Linked DNA regions of Homo sapiens: regions 1, 3, 4 and 5 are each linked to region 2. Evidence: promoter capture Hi-C in 16 types of primary human blood cells and fetal thymus (Javierre and others, 2016). All regions are on one chromosome and are shown on one strand. Each heading gives the region's core, a stretch centred on a gene start or on the middle of the fragment in contact. The rest is flanking DNA. Distances are from core to core; before and after follow the strand shown. Region 1 holds the start of ZNF772 (zinc finger protein 772). Region 2 holds the start of ZNF544 (zinc finger protein 544). Region 3 holds the start of AURKC (aurora kinase C). Region 4 holds the start of ZNF154 (zinc finger protein 154). Region 5 holds the start of ZNF416 (zinc finger protein 416).

Region 1 (2,700 bases), core at 83-2,582, 750 kb after region 2:
CAGTTTAAATATATCCTACATTGTGCTTTTCTTTGCCTCACTTCTTCCACTTATTTTACTATTATTTTACCTTTCTATTGATTATTTATTTATATTCCAAACATTTCCTCTTCTAGTTTGAAAAGTATATACGCTGACTGTATTTATTATATTTAGGCTAAAAATTACAAACGTTTAACACATTAGCGTGCCATACAGGATTGTAATACATTTGCTTTCCACTTGGAAATATAAAAAATTTAAAACTTTGAGCAACTAGCCTCCTTTCAATTTATATGTAGTTGAGGTTACGCACGGGAATTCCATCATTCTAACTCAATAAGTATATCTACTTATGTTTTACACTGTAATATGCTGTTATTTTAATCAAAAGATGCACTTCTTTTCATCTTCATTTCTTCTCTCATTGCAGACTTTTCACCTGAGATCAACTTTCTTTGGCCTTGAGTATTATTTTAAACATTATTTTTTGTGTAAATGTATTTCCATTACATTTATCATTTTTGGTTTCAAATAGTTTTATATCACACTTCCATAAAAGACATTTTGTTGTGTATAGACATCTAGTTTGGTGGTTATTTCTTCTTTACAGAAAGTGTTCATGTTGCCCTTTTCATTGCCATATGACATTTGATGAATTCTGTCTTTTCAGACACTTGTAAAACACTTAAAATATTGAATACATCTCTGTATATGGAGTATGAAATACTATCTTGAACAAGAGTATTACTTGTTGGGTTTGACACAATCACTGCTGTATAAGCAGGATAAATATTTTCTGAGGTAACAGACAGAAGGGTTATTCACTTACTTCAAGGCCACCAAACATCCCCACTCCACGTTCCACATCATGGTGTCTGGAGTCTTTTCTTTCTTGTGCCTGACAGAAAATGCTGAGGCTCGCCAAACTAACTCTGGAGCATCAGGCTACACGCATTTGAAAACAATATTTGTTAACTTCCAGCCATAGAAATCTGAGTGACGTCAGTGTATGGTGTGTCCATTTTATTTTTTGATGAGCATTCTCTGCGTAAGGAAGGCTGAAATCATGTCTCTAAACATTCCTTTGATGTCAAACACGACGTTCACCAGAAATACAGATATGGCTCCTTCAAGAGGAAGCTAAGCTCCGTCTGGGCCTTGGAGACGAGGGACACCATTTCCACGCGCCCCTGGCGGTCTTCTCTGGGCTTTTAACCTGGAGGTGAAGCGAGACGCCGCTTACTAGTGTTGGTGCCGTGGGAACTACATTACCCAGGAAACTTGGCGGCTCTGGGCCAATGAAAACCCAGGAAATAGGCGTTTCCGTTGGTCCTCACCAACGTCAGGGCGGGACTTCCTCTACCATCCTCGGGTGGACATTTTGTTTGCTTTTCCATTAATCCACTGGTTTAGTTTCCAGAACGCAATGTCAGACCTGAGGTGACAGAAAAGGGAAAACGTGAGAGAGTGTCTTCTTCCCTGAAGAGAGGTGGGCCTGAGGCTTGACAGTGGCGCTGCCTGAGTGACCTAGCCGCTGGGCTGGGCCCTGGACAGCTGATCCCAGGTTCCTGCACTTGTCGCCACCCTTCCGTAGTCCACAGGCCTGATGGCGGCGGCTGAGCCGATGGGCCCGGCACAGGTGGGTGCTGCGTCTGCGAGTCTGCGCGCTGACCCCCATCTCTGAATCCCAAAGCTTCGAATGAACGATTCCTCGGGTTACTGCAGCTCAGGCCCCTGTATCTAGAACAGTGGGGGCGCTCGTGTTTGGGACCCATTTTGACAGCACGAGTTGAAGGACGTTCCAGGCAGAGAGACCAGTGTATGCAAAGGCTCAGAGATGGTTCACAGCTGGAGCATTTGGGAAAACTGGGCCTTTAGTGTCTGAAAGGATCAGAGCGCTTTATAAGTGATTGCACCTGGAATATCATCCTGAGCAGCTGGGTCTCTATTCTGAGGGTGATGGGAGCCATGGAAGGTTCTGAACAGAGGAGAGCCAGAATCCGAGGGTTTAAAAAGTATTCCATAGACTGCTCATGGAGGGCAGACTCTTGTTGGCCATGGGGGCGGATAATGAGCACTGTTCCGAGCTAACACAGTTAAGAGGTATCCTTGAAGATGGAAGCACAGAGGGTAGACATTCAGCTCCCAGGCACATTGTAACTGGGTAGGAATATGGGATGGGGTTGAGCCTTTGGGGTTCCTTCAAGATTGCTTGACTCGCATAGTCTCCCTCTTCCCCACAGGTTCCCATGAACTCAGAAGTAATTGTGGACCCTATACAGGTGAGGGGAGAATGTCCATGCTCTCACCGATCCCACCCCCACCCAATACGCTCTCCAGCATTGTGGTGTTATATAGAACACTCTCCTGCTACTCTCCGATCTCTTGGGTCTGAGGACTCTGGAGAAGCCCCAAGCCCAGGGTCCTGACTCCGGGCCAGGGGTTTTATGGAGGGGTTTCCATTTCTGCCAACCATTGGAATAAGGTTGGAAGGTTGTTCCAGGCACAGGAACCAGCCTGTGCAAAATACTTAGAGGTGAGACTGAGAAGGGAGTTTTCAAGAAATTGCAGGTCTCTGTCATGTCTGGTGGGAACCAAGAGCAAGGGGGCGGGAATCATCCTGAAATGGCTTAAAGATGATTATGTAGATTGGGAGTTAAAAGAGAATATTCATTTCACAGTGGTAGTGCATTTAGTGAGCCAGGAAAGTGATGGTGG
Region 2 (2,700 bases), core at 66-2,565:
TATGGTGGCTGATCTGGCAGAAGTCCCTCTGGCTGCAGGGCTGGGGAGGGAGTTGCTTTCTCTTTCCTTTTCCAGTTTTCTCCTTCCCTGCTTGTGGGGTGACGTTTCCAATCTGCTCCAGGTTACGTGTCCAGCCCAAACCTCCTGGGCTTCCTGCCACTGCCATTCCCTCCTCCACATTCAGCCATGTCACCCACATGCTCCTCAACTCCCATGCAGAGACTGACCAGGCATACCACATCTTCCTTGCACTGTGACTTCTACCCTGGCTCCACGCTGGAAACAGAAACACAGTCTTCCTCCACTCCTTCCTGTCTTTTGGCATCCCTCCTTACACGGAGTCATTTCCACAATCAGATGTTTCCCTACTCCCTTAGACTCTTGAAATCCAACCCCATGCCTTCCTCATTAGCACTGCCTTGTACGGTCCCCATCAAATATCACCCAACACAAATGGAACCCCGATCCCTAACTTACAGGCGTTACATACACATCCCATCCTGTTCACCTCTGTAGTCTCTCTATGGGGTGCACCAGCATCGCTTAACCAGTGCAGGCCCCCAACACCCCAGTTACCCCTGCCCTGCGTGGACTGGCCTTAATCTTCTGTTCACTTGGAAAATACACATGTTCTCTGCAAGGTTCAAGCTTCACGTACCATTGGAAGAAAATGTGTCCACGTCTGGAGCTGGGATGACCTCTGGGGTCCAATAGGCGTCACCTGCCTGGTGCCGCTGTGCCAGGAGGCTCTTGGCTGCCACCTGTGGATAAGCCGCAGAAGATGAGTTGAGGGAGGAAAAAGGAGCCGGGAGAGGCCCGCTGGGTCGGCAGCCCCAGAGCTCCAGACGCCAGCCTGAATCCCCCGCCCCTGCAGCCCTCGACCCAGGCACCCTCTGTCGGGAGGGCCCACCCAGTCCCACCCAGTCCCACCCAGTCCCACCCAGTCCCACCCAGTTCCACCCCTGCCCGTACCTGCGAGGTACTATAAGTTCCCTCCCAGCTCTGCAGCAGGAGAGCCTCCCGACAAGCTCAGACCCAGCCGGGCGCTCCTGCAGGGGAAACCTGACTGGACCGGCCTTCCCCGTCCCTGAGGCCGGAGAGATCCCGATCCCATCAGGCCCCTGCCCTTGCTCGGCCTCGCCGCATGAGGGACCCCCGCAGGCCCTGCTCGTTTCTCCGGCACGCCCAGATCACTTGGGGCGGCTCTGGCCTGGTCCTGCGCTCCGGCCGCACCCGGCTAACAGTGAAACCTCCGAGCCAACCTTGAGGCCGCCAGACTCACCTGCACGCACCGGCCAATGGCGGTGCTTCCGGTGGCCGGCGGACGTGCCCGCGCTCCGCGCAACAAACAACTCCCAGAAGGCCGCGCGCCGGTAGCCGTTGCTCCCACAGGCATAGTCATTGCCGGCGGGAGCATGGGGCCCCGCGGCGGCGGGATGAGCTTTTTCCTGTGTTCGCGACTAGCATTGTGGCTTAGGGAGTTGCTTCCCGCGGCTCTGCTCCTTGCAGCGCCTGTCCCCTCCCCCTTAAACGGGCCACGCTGGTTCTCATCCAGCAACCGAAGCCGAGACTGTGGAGGCGGCGGTCGGCGTCCAGGGCGGGACTAGCGCCTATGGGGCTCGGCGCTGTCATCTCGGGTGCCTTCCCGGCGCCTTGCCCTGCTGGGGAGAGAGACCAAGACTGAGCCATGAGAACAGTCCAAGGCCGTTAACCGGGAGCTCAGGGGCAAGGGCGCCCGCCAACATCTGCGCCTGTGGCAGGGACTCAGGGACAGCCTGGGCGTGGGGACGCGTCCTAGTGATAGAAACAAAGCCCCGGGAGTGCCCTGCTTGGAGCATTCCGAGTGGAAGGTGGAAGCACGCTAACTGGAGGCGATTCGTCCTAGGTGATCGCTCAGTCGAGCCTATTTGGCTTTCTGTGGTAGCTCCTAAGTGGGACAGGGAAAAAAATAGGGAGGCTGGCAGTGACCAAGTTCTGTTTTGTACCTATTGCTGCAGAAGTTGTGGGACAGAGTTCTGTTATTATAAATGGTCTGATGTTCAGTCTCAGTGCGTTGTGGGGCTCAATGTCTGAGACCCACCACCGCCTGACCCGTCCTGGCTCTTCAATGAGGGAGACCACAGGAAACTTTCCTACGAAGGCCAGGTAGGCGGGAACCACTGTGGCTCAGGCACCCTCAGCTCCTGGACTGTGCTTTTGTGTCTGGGGTGCATCTGTGACTAGCCTTCCTTGGCTTGACTGTTTTGTAGCTGACCTTGTCGATAGCTTTACCCAACAGTCATCATCTTTTTACTTGCTTATTTTCATACCTGGCTAGCACGACCCTGCAATTTTTAGATTCTTCCGGGAAATCTAGAATCTAACTCCCTAAGGGAGGATCTTGATGGATTCTAAGCTAATCAGAATGGACTCAAGCTTCTTGCTGTGTGAATTAGGCAAGGATATTCTGGCCAAGGAGAAATAAGGCTGCTAGGGGTTTCCTGGGAAGGTTCCCTCAGTCTTTTTTTTTTTTTTTTTTTTTTTTTTTTTTTGTGAGACGGAGTCTCGCTCTGTCCACCAGGCTGGAGTGCAGTGGTACGATCTAGGCCCACGGCACTCTCCGCCTTCCGGGTTCACGCCTTTCTCCTGCCTCAGCCTCCCGAGTAGCTGGGACTACAGGCGCCCGCCACCACGCCCGGCTAATTTTTTGTAATTTTTCTT
Region 3 (2,790 bases), core at 65-2,564, 1.0 Mb after region 2:
ACTGCAGAGAAGTCTTCAAGGTACAAGTGCAGGGTTTACTTGGGGTTAGTATTTGGGGAAAATGCTGGGCTCAGACGTCAAAGATGAAAGAGGAAGCAGAGACTGTCCTTACTGTAGATGAGCCTGGATCTCAATTTCCCGGCGCAGCTGGTGCTCCAGTCCTTCCTTCTCTATCTGCGACTTGAAGAGAACCTTCAGGGCCACAATGAAATGGCTTTCCTTGAGCCGAGCCAGGTACACATTCCCAAATTTCCCCTTGCCCAGGGGACGCCCGATTTCAAAGTCATCGACTGTGAGGCGCCGCCTGACAGGAGAGGAAGAAAAAAGCCTCAGCTTGGGAGGTAGGGTAGGCGGAGGGAAAGTCAGGGATGCCAATGCTCCCCTTCCTCTTTCATTGTATCCTTCCTCTGCCGCTTTCCCTTCTCACACAGACCCAGCCCTATCAGTAGTTCTCGTTCCCAGGAGCCAGCACCCCACACACCCAGTCTGTTCTTCATCCCCACGTCCCACCTTCCTTCCTTTTCCAGATACCAATCCCAAGGGACTCACATGGCTGGGCTGCTGGGCTGCTGGGCTGTTTGGTTTGCTGTAGCCACTGAAAGAGAGGAGGAGGAGGGAGATAGGAAGGGAGAGGGGAGGGAAGGAGAAGGGGAGAGAAAGAGAGGAGAGGAGAACAGTAGAGAAGGGAATAGGGAGCGAGAGGTGAGGGGAAGAAGGGGAGGAGAGAAAGAGAGGGAAGGGGAAGGCAGGGAGAGGGGGAGGGAGAGGTAAGGGGAAGAAGAAAGAGTAAGGTAAGGTAGGGAGGGGAGGAGGAGGTGAAGAAGAGGCAGAGAGAAAGGAAGGGGAGGAGAGAGTAGGGGAGGGAGAGGTGAAAGAAAGAATTGGAGGGAAGGGAGGGAGTGGGGAGAAAAGAAGAGCGTTGGGGAGGAGGAGAGGGAGGGGAGATGTCAACACATGTGTCTTCTGTGCACCCGACCCCTGGCCCAGTCCCCAGCCTTCCCTGCGTCCTTTCTCTGGCGCTGGCTCTCACACTCTTCGCCTGCAGGTTGAGCTTTGCCCAGCTGCACCACAGCTCTGGGGGAGCTCATGGGGAGAAGAGGTGAGGGCGCGGACGCCTTCCTGAACCCTCTGGATGGCTGTTCCCGTTCACAGGGTCCTGAAAGGGGTGGGGGGTCACTTTCTGGCCGGGGCGCTTCCAATCCTGCTCGTCCTGCAGCCTCACTGATGTCTCACTGCTACACAGGCTTCGGGATCCGCGGCGTCGTGAGCAGCCGTGGCTGCGCGGCCTTCTTTTATACCCGGCACCAACCGCTCAGAGAGGTACTTCCTGGCTGGCTCCTATTGGCTGAAATTCCTGACGCCATCGGAAGTGCGCCCAATAGAAAGGACAGAAACGGGAGCCTCAGTCCAGGGTTCCCGGGTTGGGGCGGAACTGGAGTGCTGCGGTCCGGGCTGGGCACTGAAAGCGAGGGCCAGGGGTGAGGCCCGAGAAGGAAGGAGACAGAGGGTGCGGAGAGGTGGTGATGGCCGTTGTGGGAATGAACAACGCATACACCCACGGGGTGTGCATGCGTCAACTAGGAGAGAGCCGCGATGCACGTGGGAATGAACAGACGCCCACTCCTGACGTGCTGGAGCCTCGTGCAGCCCGTGACCCTAAACCACTTCGCGCCTTGTGCAGCCGGCGACCCCAAAACCACCTTGCTTCAAGGTCACGTCCGATTCAGGCCACTCTCCAGGGTCACCGCGATGGGGCTCCCTGAAGCCTGCGGCTGTGCCTGCTCACAGCCAGGACGCCACCAGTCCAGCTCACTTACCCCTCTCCTCCCACTCGCCAAATATTTGTTGGACCCTGTAATCAGTTTGTGGATTTGGCCTCAGATCGTAAAATCAGCCCCCACGTATTTGTTTAGCAAACACATAAGTTTCAAAAACATTAAAAATTGAATTCTTTTAGACAGGGAACATATCTTGCAGAAATATAATTGAAGGCCTGGCGTGATGGCTCATGCCTGTAATCCCAGCACTTTGGGAGGCCGAGGCGGGCGGATCACCTGAGGTAGGCAGTTCGAGACCAGCCTGGCCAACAGGGCGAAACCCCGTTTCTACTACAAAAATTAGCCGGGTGTGGTGGCGCATGCCTGTAATCCCACCTACTCAAAAGGCTGAGGCAAGAGAATCGCTTGAACCCTGGAGGCGGAGGTTGCAGTGAGCCAAGATCATGCCACTGCACTCCAGCCTGGGCGACAGAAGGAGAACGAGACTCTGTCTCAAAAAAAACAAAAACAAAAACAAAAAAACCCAAAAACAAAAAAGCTCGTCTCAAAATATTTGGGGAGACCTATTTGAGTAATAAAACTCTGGTCTCTCATTTAGCTCGATTGATGTGAATTAAACCCTTTATTGCAATTATCCTGTCTTGATAAGTCGACTCTATCTGGGGAGCAGGGAAAATAATGAACCCATTAGGTGGTTACAATAGGTGGATCAGGGTAATGGCGCTTAGCTCAGGCCAACCATTCCTTTCTCAGAGGCTTTCCCAAACCTGTCTGTTTGTTTGTTTATTGAGACGGAGTCTTGCTCTGTCACCCAGGCTGGAGTGCAGTGGCTCGAACTCAGCTCATGCAACCTCCGCCTCCTAGGTTCAAACATTTCTCCTGCCTCAGCCTCCTGAGTAGCTGGGATTACAGGCACCTGCCACCATGCCCGGCTAATTTTTGTATTTTTAGTAGAGACAGGGTTTCACCATGTTGGCCAGGCTGGTCTCGAACTCCTGACCTCAGGTGATCC
Region 4 (2,700 bases), core at 6-2,505, 520 kb after region 2:
GGAATTTATTCTAAAAATACCCACATGGCTCATTTCTCACTTCCTTCAAGTGCATTTCACCGGCTTTCTGATTAAGAAGTCCCACCTCTCCCCTTTGTCTCTTATCAAAGTAGCATTTCTTTCATTGTTTTTTGAGATTGATGTTAGACTTCTAGAAGGAATATATCTCAGATATCAAGTAAGAATTATGAAATGGATAAAAGCGTTGCTCAGTGAATTGGACACAGTTATTGACTGGACACAGTAATTGGACACAATAATTGACTATGCAGGCAAAAGATGTTTTCTGTTGGAATCAGACAGAATTCTACCTTTGTACTACTGTTTCAAGGTGATCTAACATTTCTCTTCTATCTTCTAGAAGCACTATCATGCCACTATCTGAAGTAGTTTTTCACCTGTCCCTGACCAAAAGTGCACAGACTGACTTCAATGCTTCGGAGTGCATACATTTGAAATGTAATATGATAGAGGCTGGGTACGGTGGCTTACGCCTGTAATCCCAGCACTTTGAGAGGCCGAGGCGGGCAGATCACCTGGGGCCAGGAATTTGGGACCACCATAGTGAAACCCTGTCTCTACTGAAAATACAAAAAATTAGCCTGGCGTGGTGGCGCGCGCCTATAGTCCCAGCTACTTGGAAGGTTGAGGCACGAGAATCGATTAACCCGGGAGGCGGAGGTTGCAGTGATCCCAGATGGCGCCGCTGCACTCCAGCCTGGGGGACAGAGGGAAACTTTGTCTTAAAAAAAAAAAAAAAGGAATAAACTTATATGGTAATGTTTATTAGCTTCCCTACTAGTGGATATATTTCGTGTCTGAATGGCTCTATGGAATGATGTACATATTTGGATTGGCAGCCTTAGGGAGCGTCTGATAATAATTTTAGCCTCTGGGAGCCTGCTGAACTTTATGAAGTTTGAAATAATATTCCCCAAACACTTGGGTGATCAGTTGCAGATGGCACCTCTAATATGCTGTCTGATTACGACCCATTTAAGAAAGGGCGAAGTCCCTCCACTGCCCTAGGACTTGGATAAGCCATTTCTCATCGCCCAGCGCCCTGGAGCTTCGCTTTTACTCCAAGAGGTTGGTGCAAAGGGTCCCCGGCACCCACCTCGGGATCTATGAAAACTACATTACCTAGAATGCTCTGCGTTGAACGCCACGCTACTAAGCCAGTAAGAGCTCAGAAAACCGACTTTCCTTGAGAGTCACAAAAAGAAAGGACGGGACTTTTGGGGGGGCCTCTTCGTGGCGGCCATTTTAGCTTCTCTGAGGTGTGTTCACCGGATCAGAGATAGCAGAGCGCCGAGTTGGGGCCACGAAGGCGTGAGGGGAGTCGTCGTCCCTCCTGCACGAAAGCGTCTAAGCCTTGGCGACGCCGCCCTGGGGGACCCACGTCAGGCCTGGGATAGGGACCGCTGTCCCCGGGTCCCTACCAATGTCGCCCGTCGCTCCCGGCCCAGCTCTACCCGCAGAGTCTGATGGCAGCGGCCACTCTGAGGACGCCAACTCAGGTGAGTGCGGCGTCTTCCCGTCCTCACACACCTTCCCCCACCCACGTTCTAAAGCCATCAGTGAGGGGCGCCTGCTCGAGTCCCCGCTGCCCAGGGTCGGGGACACTGAGGCGTTCGTGGGTGGGGCCCTTTTTTTGACACTGCGTGTGACGAGGTGTGGGAGAGCGTGACAGGCGGAGGAACCGGCGCGTGCAAAGGTTGAGGCGCGACTGAGCCAGGAGAATTCGGAAAGCTGTTTTCTGCAGGGAACGAAGAATATGAGGCGGAGTTACTCCTAGGGTTGTACTGTCATTGTGAGGATGCTAGAAGCCACGGAGAGTTCTGAACAAAGGAGGGACGCCATTTATGTTAGTTTTTTTTTCTTTGAGACGGAGTTTCGCTCTTATCGCCCAGGCTGGAGTGCAATGACGCGATCTCGGGTCACTGCAACCTCCGACTCCCGGGTTCAAGCGATTCTCCTGCCTCAGCCTCCCCAGCAGCTGGGATTACAAGCCTGCAGCTGGGATTACAACGTCCGGCTAATTTTTTGTATTTTTAGTAGAGACGGGATTTCACCATTTTGGCCAGACTGGTCTGGAACTCCTGACAAGTGATCCTCCTGCCTCGGCCTCCCAAAGTGCTGGGATTACAGGCGTGAGCCACCGTGCCCGCCCTATGTTAGGGTTTAAAAACTTTTCCAAAGACTGTTCACAGGAAGAGCAGCGATGGGGCGATGAGGACATTGAGATAGTGGGAGGCTACATCTTTTTTTCATTGCCCTACAGTTGGCAAGAGGTGACAGCACTGAGACCAGAAAGTAAAACAGCCAGCCTGAGTTCAGGGCCAGGCAGGGCTACAGGGAGGCTTGAGCTCATCTAGCCTCACCAGGGATGCATTCCTCTTTCCCTGGTTCTCCCAGTTGTAGAAGGGCGTATGGAACTCACATAGGGAAGTGGAGAGTGTTCGGTCCCTCAGTAGCCTCTACCCCCATGTTCTTGGGATTGTGGTTTCCTAGTATTCTTAAGTGCTGTTACCCCAATCCTGGGTCTGGTGCCCTGGAGAAATTCCAAGCCCAGGGCTCTTAAGTCCATGCCAGAGGTTACAGGGGTTATACTGAGGTGTTCCCATTTTTGTCAGCCAGTGGAAACTTGTGAAAGGTTATCTCTGGCACTGGTATCAGGAGGCGCAAGTGCTTAGTAAA
Region 5 (2,700 bases), core at 182-2,681, 650 kb after region 2:
TCATTTTAACTAGAGTGAGATGATATCTCATTGTAGTTTTGATTTGCATTTTTATAGTGATCAATGATGTTAAGCATGTTTTCATCTACCTGCTTGCCATTTATCTGTCTTTTAAAATTTTTAGTTTTATGAGTACATAGTATGTATGTATATTTATGGGATACGTGAGATATTGTGATACAGGCATACAATGTGTAATAATCATATCAGGGTACACAAGCATTTATCATTTCTTTGTGTTACAAACATTCTAGTTATAATACTCTTTTAGTTGTTTTTAATGTACAATAAATTACTGTTGACTGTAGTCTCTCTACTGTGCTATCAAATACTAGATCTTATTCATTCTACCCTGTCTTAAGGAGGCCTTGGTAGCCATGCTGAGGTTATGGGGTGCTGCTTCCAAAACCAAAAGTATTATGGGCAGCTGGTATGAAGGATCATAGGCTTATGGTCTGTGAGATCCTGTATGTTTAAGAAAGCCCAGTCTTATTGCCAGTAATTACTGTTTTAATGGTGTATAGCATGAGGCTGAAAGAGACAGTTTCCTGCATTGGAAGCTTTTACTCAACAAATGGCCGTTGTATGTGGTTCAGAGATTCCAAGAGGCATGAGAAGTGTAAACCAAAAATAAAATTCCCAGCCCCCCAACCATCTGAATGCATCCTTCCTCTTGGCCAAGGGCATTCCAAAGTTAATCTGAAAAACTAGTTCAGGACGTGATGGGAAGTGAGGGTCAGACTTGCCCTCCTCCCCTTGGAATTCAGGCACAACTGACCAGCATTAACATTAAAACAGAGATTTTAAGACTTCTTGTAGCAATAAGACAGTGAATTCCAGCCTGATTGTAGTATAGCATTACATGACAGATAGCAGGCCCTGAAAGGAATTGAAGTATTTTACTCTAAACTTTATTTATTTGACATATTTTGAAGAGGCCCTGCAAAGGTGTGTCTTGTGGAATCTGCATTTTGCTGAGAATCCCCTTTCCTCTCCAGGGTTTTTTTATTTTCATGGTCCAGGAAAGAATTAAGAGTCTGGCACCTTTCAAAGTCTGATAGGAAACATTTACAATCTATTCCCTCTGAAGCCTGCTGCGTGAAAGCTTCATCTGCTTAATAAGAACCTTGGTCTCTACAACCTCTTATCTTAACCCAGACACTCCCTTCAGTGGGTATGGGACTGCGGAAATCGGCCAGCGGCCCCTTTAAGGAGCAGCAAGTCCCTGTCTCGCTCTTGGTGTCGCGCCTTTTCCTAGCGCCCTCCGCGGGCCGCTTAGCCCTTGTTCCGGGTGAATCTCAGGGAGGGCACCGGAACCCTGGGCTTCTGAGAACTACATTACCCATAATGCCGAGCGCCAAGCTGCAAAGACGCGGAGCCAATCAACGTTCAGGAACGGACCTGTCTCCGTTTGTTGCATACGGTAAGGCGGGACTTCCGGCACCGCTCCGAGATGGTAATTTTGGTGGTTCTCTACCTCGGCCCACGCCGCCTGAGTTAGAAACGCTGCCTCCGGCACAGAGCGGGGGTCGCCCCGCTGCGCATCAGCCGGTGGGTCGCTGGCGCTGGTGGCAGCCGTGCCTGGGTTCCCGCCCCGGGTCGCCCGCCGCTCCCGGCCCCGCTCCGCTCACAATCCGATGGCGGCGGCCGTGCTTAGGGATTCGACTTCGGTGAGTGCTGCGTCTCCCGGGCCTCACCTGCCCTCTCCGCCGGAAATCCAACACCCTGCATGAGGGGCGCCTGCTTGCGTCCCTGCAGCCCGACCCTAGAGTCCAGGACTATGAGGCCCTCGCGGGTGGGGCTCCCATTTACAAGCCTGGTGTCGTGGGCTGTGGAGGGTGTGGCAGGCGGAGGGGCCGGTTTCTGTGAATCTTGCTGGGACGATTGAGCCAGTAACGTTCACGCCCGAATGGTAAAATGAGGCTCTTTCTTTTCAAGACGCTGAGAGCCATGGGTGGTTGTGAACAGACGAGGCACATGGTCTGAGTTAGACTTTTCAAATTTTTTCTAAAGTTACTCAGAGTTGGAACAGCCTGGAAGGGGGATAACACCGAGGCACAGGGAAGTTGAGTCCTTGTGCAAGGTCCCACAGCAGGTAAGAGTCACACGGAACTGAGGAGCAATAATAATTTAGTCATCACCAAGTCACCTGGCTCCAGGGCTGCGCAGGGAAACAAGGAGGCATCAGCCCATGGAGCTTCCACCATAGTTACCTGCCTCTCATAGCCTTCCTCTTCCCGCAGGTTCCCGTGACTGCAGAAGCTAAACTTATGGGCTTTACACAGGTGAGTGGAGAGTGTTTCGGGCCCTCACTGATGCTGACCCCAGTGTTTGTCTCTGAGATTGTGTTCTGGGACTCTTCTCTTGGCACTCTTTGGGTCCTTGGTTCTAGGAATCCTGAACAAACATCAGTCCCAGGGTCATACATCCAGGCTGGAAGCTGGTATAGAATGGTTCCTATTGCTGGGAACCAGTAAAGTAAGGTGTGGAACGTTGTCTCAGGCTTAGATACCAGATGAGCAAGTGCTTGAAGGTCAGGCTGAGCTGGTTTAGGAAACTACAGCTGTTTTCTTTCTCATGGGAACTGAAAGCTGGGATGCAGGAATCAGACAAAAAATGGCTGTCAGTTGTCGGGTGTTTCTTCTGGAGTGTGTGATGAGCAATGACAGTTTGGGGGCAGAGGAGGTATGTGATCTGATC

Evidence for each region. The method cuts DNA at HindIII sites, captures the fragments that hold promoters and counts their contacts. A CHiCAGO score of 5 or more calls a contact.
Region 1: a contact is called between the fragment with the promoter of ZNF772 here and the fragment with the promoter of ZNF544 in region 2, in 4 of 17 cell types (non-activated CD4 T cells, fetal thymus, total CD8 T cells and 1 more). The highest score is 7.6, in non-activated CD4 T cells.
Region 3: a contact is called between the fragment with the promoter of AURKC here and the fragment with the promoter of ZNF544 in region 2, in 1 of 17 cell types (activated CD4 T cells). The highest score is 5.8, in activated CD4 T cells.
Region 4: a contact is called between the fragment with the promoter of ZNF154 here and the fragment with the promoter of ZNF544 in region 2, in 1 of 17 cell types (neutrophils). The highest score is 5.9, in neutrophils.
Region 5: the fragment with the promoter of ZNF416 here is called in contact with the fragment with the promoter of ZNF544 in region 2 in 4 of 17 cell types (activated CD4 T cells, non-activated CD4 T cells, erythroblasts and 1 more); the score reaches 6.5 in activated CD4 T cells.

What each region holds. Positions count from the first base shown.
Region 1 is chr19:57,476,198-57,478,897 of GRCh38, reverse strand. ZNF772 (zinc finger protein 772) reads left to right here and starts at 1,332. Exons shown (of 4, transcript NM_001144068.2): 1 at 1,332-1,621; 2 at 2,226-2,264. The coding sequence starts at 1,589. RefSeq lists enhancers at 818-2,017, 1,608-2,131. The HindIII fragment of the contact is 1,804 bases long and covers 1-1,677 here.
Region 2 is chr19:58,227,529-58,230,228 of GRCh38, reverse strand. It overlaps ZNF544 (zinc finger protein 544), which reads right to left and starts at 1,315. Exons shown (of 7, transcript NM_014480.4): 1 at 1,283-1,315; 2 at 659-761. RefSeq lists an enhancer at 613-1,439. The HindIII fragment of the contact is 1,767 bases long and covers 651-2,417 here.
Region 3 is chr19:57,229,547-57,232,336 of GRCh38, reverse strand. It overlaps AURKC (aurora kinase C), which reads right to left and starts at 1,314. Exons shown (of 7, transcript NM_001015878.2): 1 at 1,031-1,314; 2 at 550-595; 3 at 113-304. The coding sequence starts at 1,088. The HindIII fragment of the contact is 17,293 bases long and covers 1-2,790 here.
Region 4 is chr19:57,707,759-57,710,458 of GRCh38, reverse strand. ZNF154 (zinc finger protein 154) reads left to right here and starts at 1,255. Exons shown (of 3, transcript NM_001085384.3): 1 at 1,255-1,520. The coding sequence starts at 1,488. RefSeq lists enhancers at 1,075-1,134, 1,155-1,284, 1,028-1,667. The HindIII fragment of the contact is 9,236 bases long and covers 1-2,700 here.
Region 5 is chr19:57,577,642-57,580,341 of GRCh38, reverse strand. ZNF416 (zinc finger protein 416) reads left to right here and starts at 1,431. Exons shown (of 4, transcript NM_017879.3): 1 at 1,431-1,670; 2 at 2,244-2,285. The coding sequence starts at 1,638. RefSeq lists a silencer at 1,522-1,741. The HindIII fragment of the contact is 6,514 bases long and covers 1,108-2,700 here.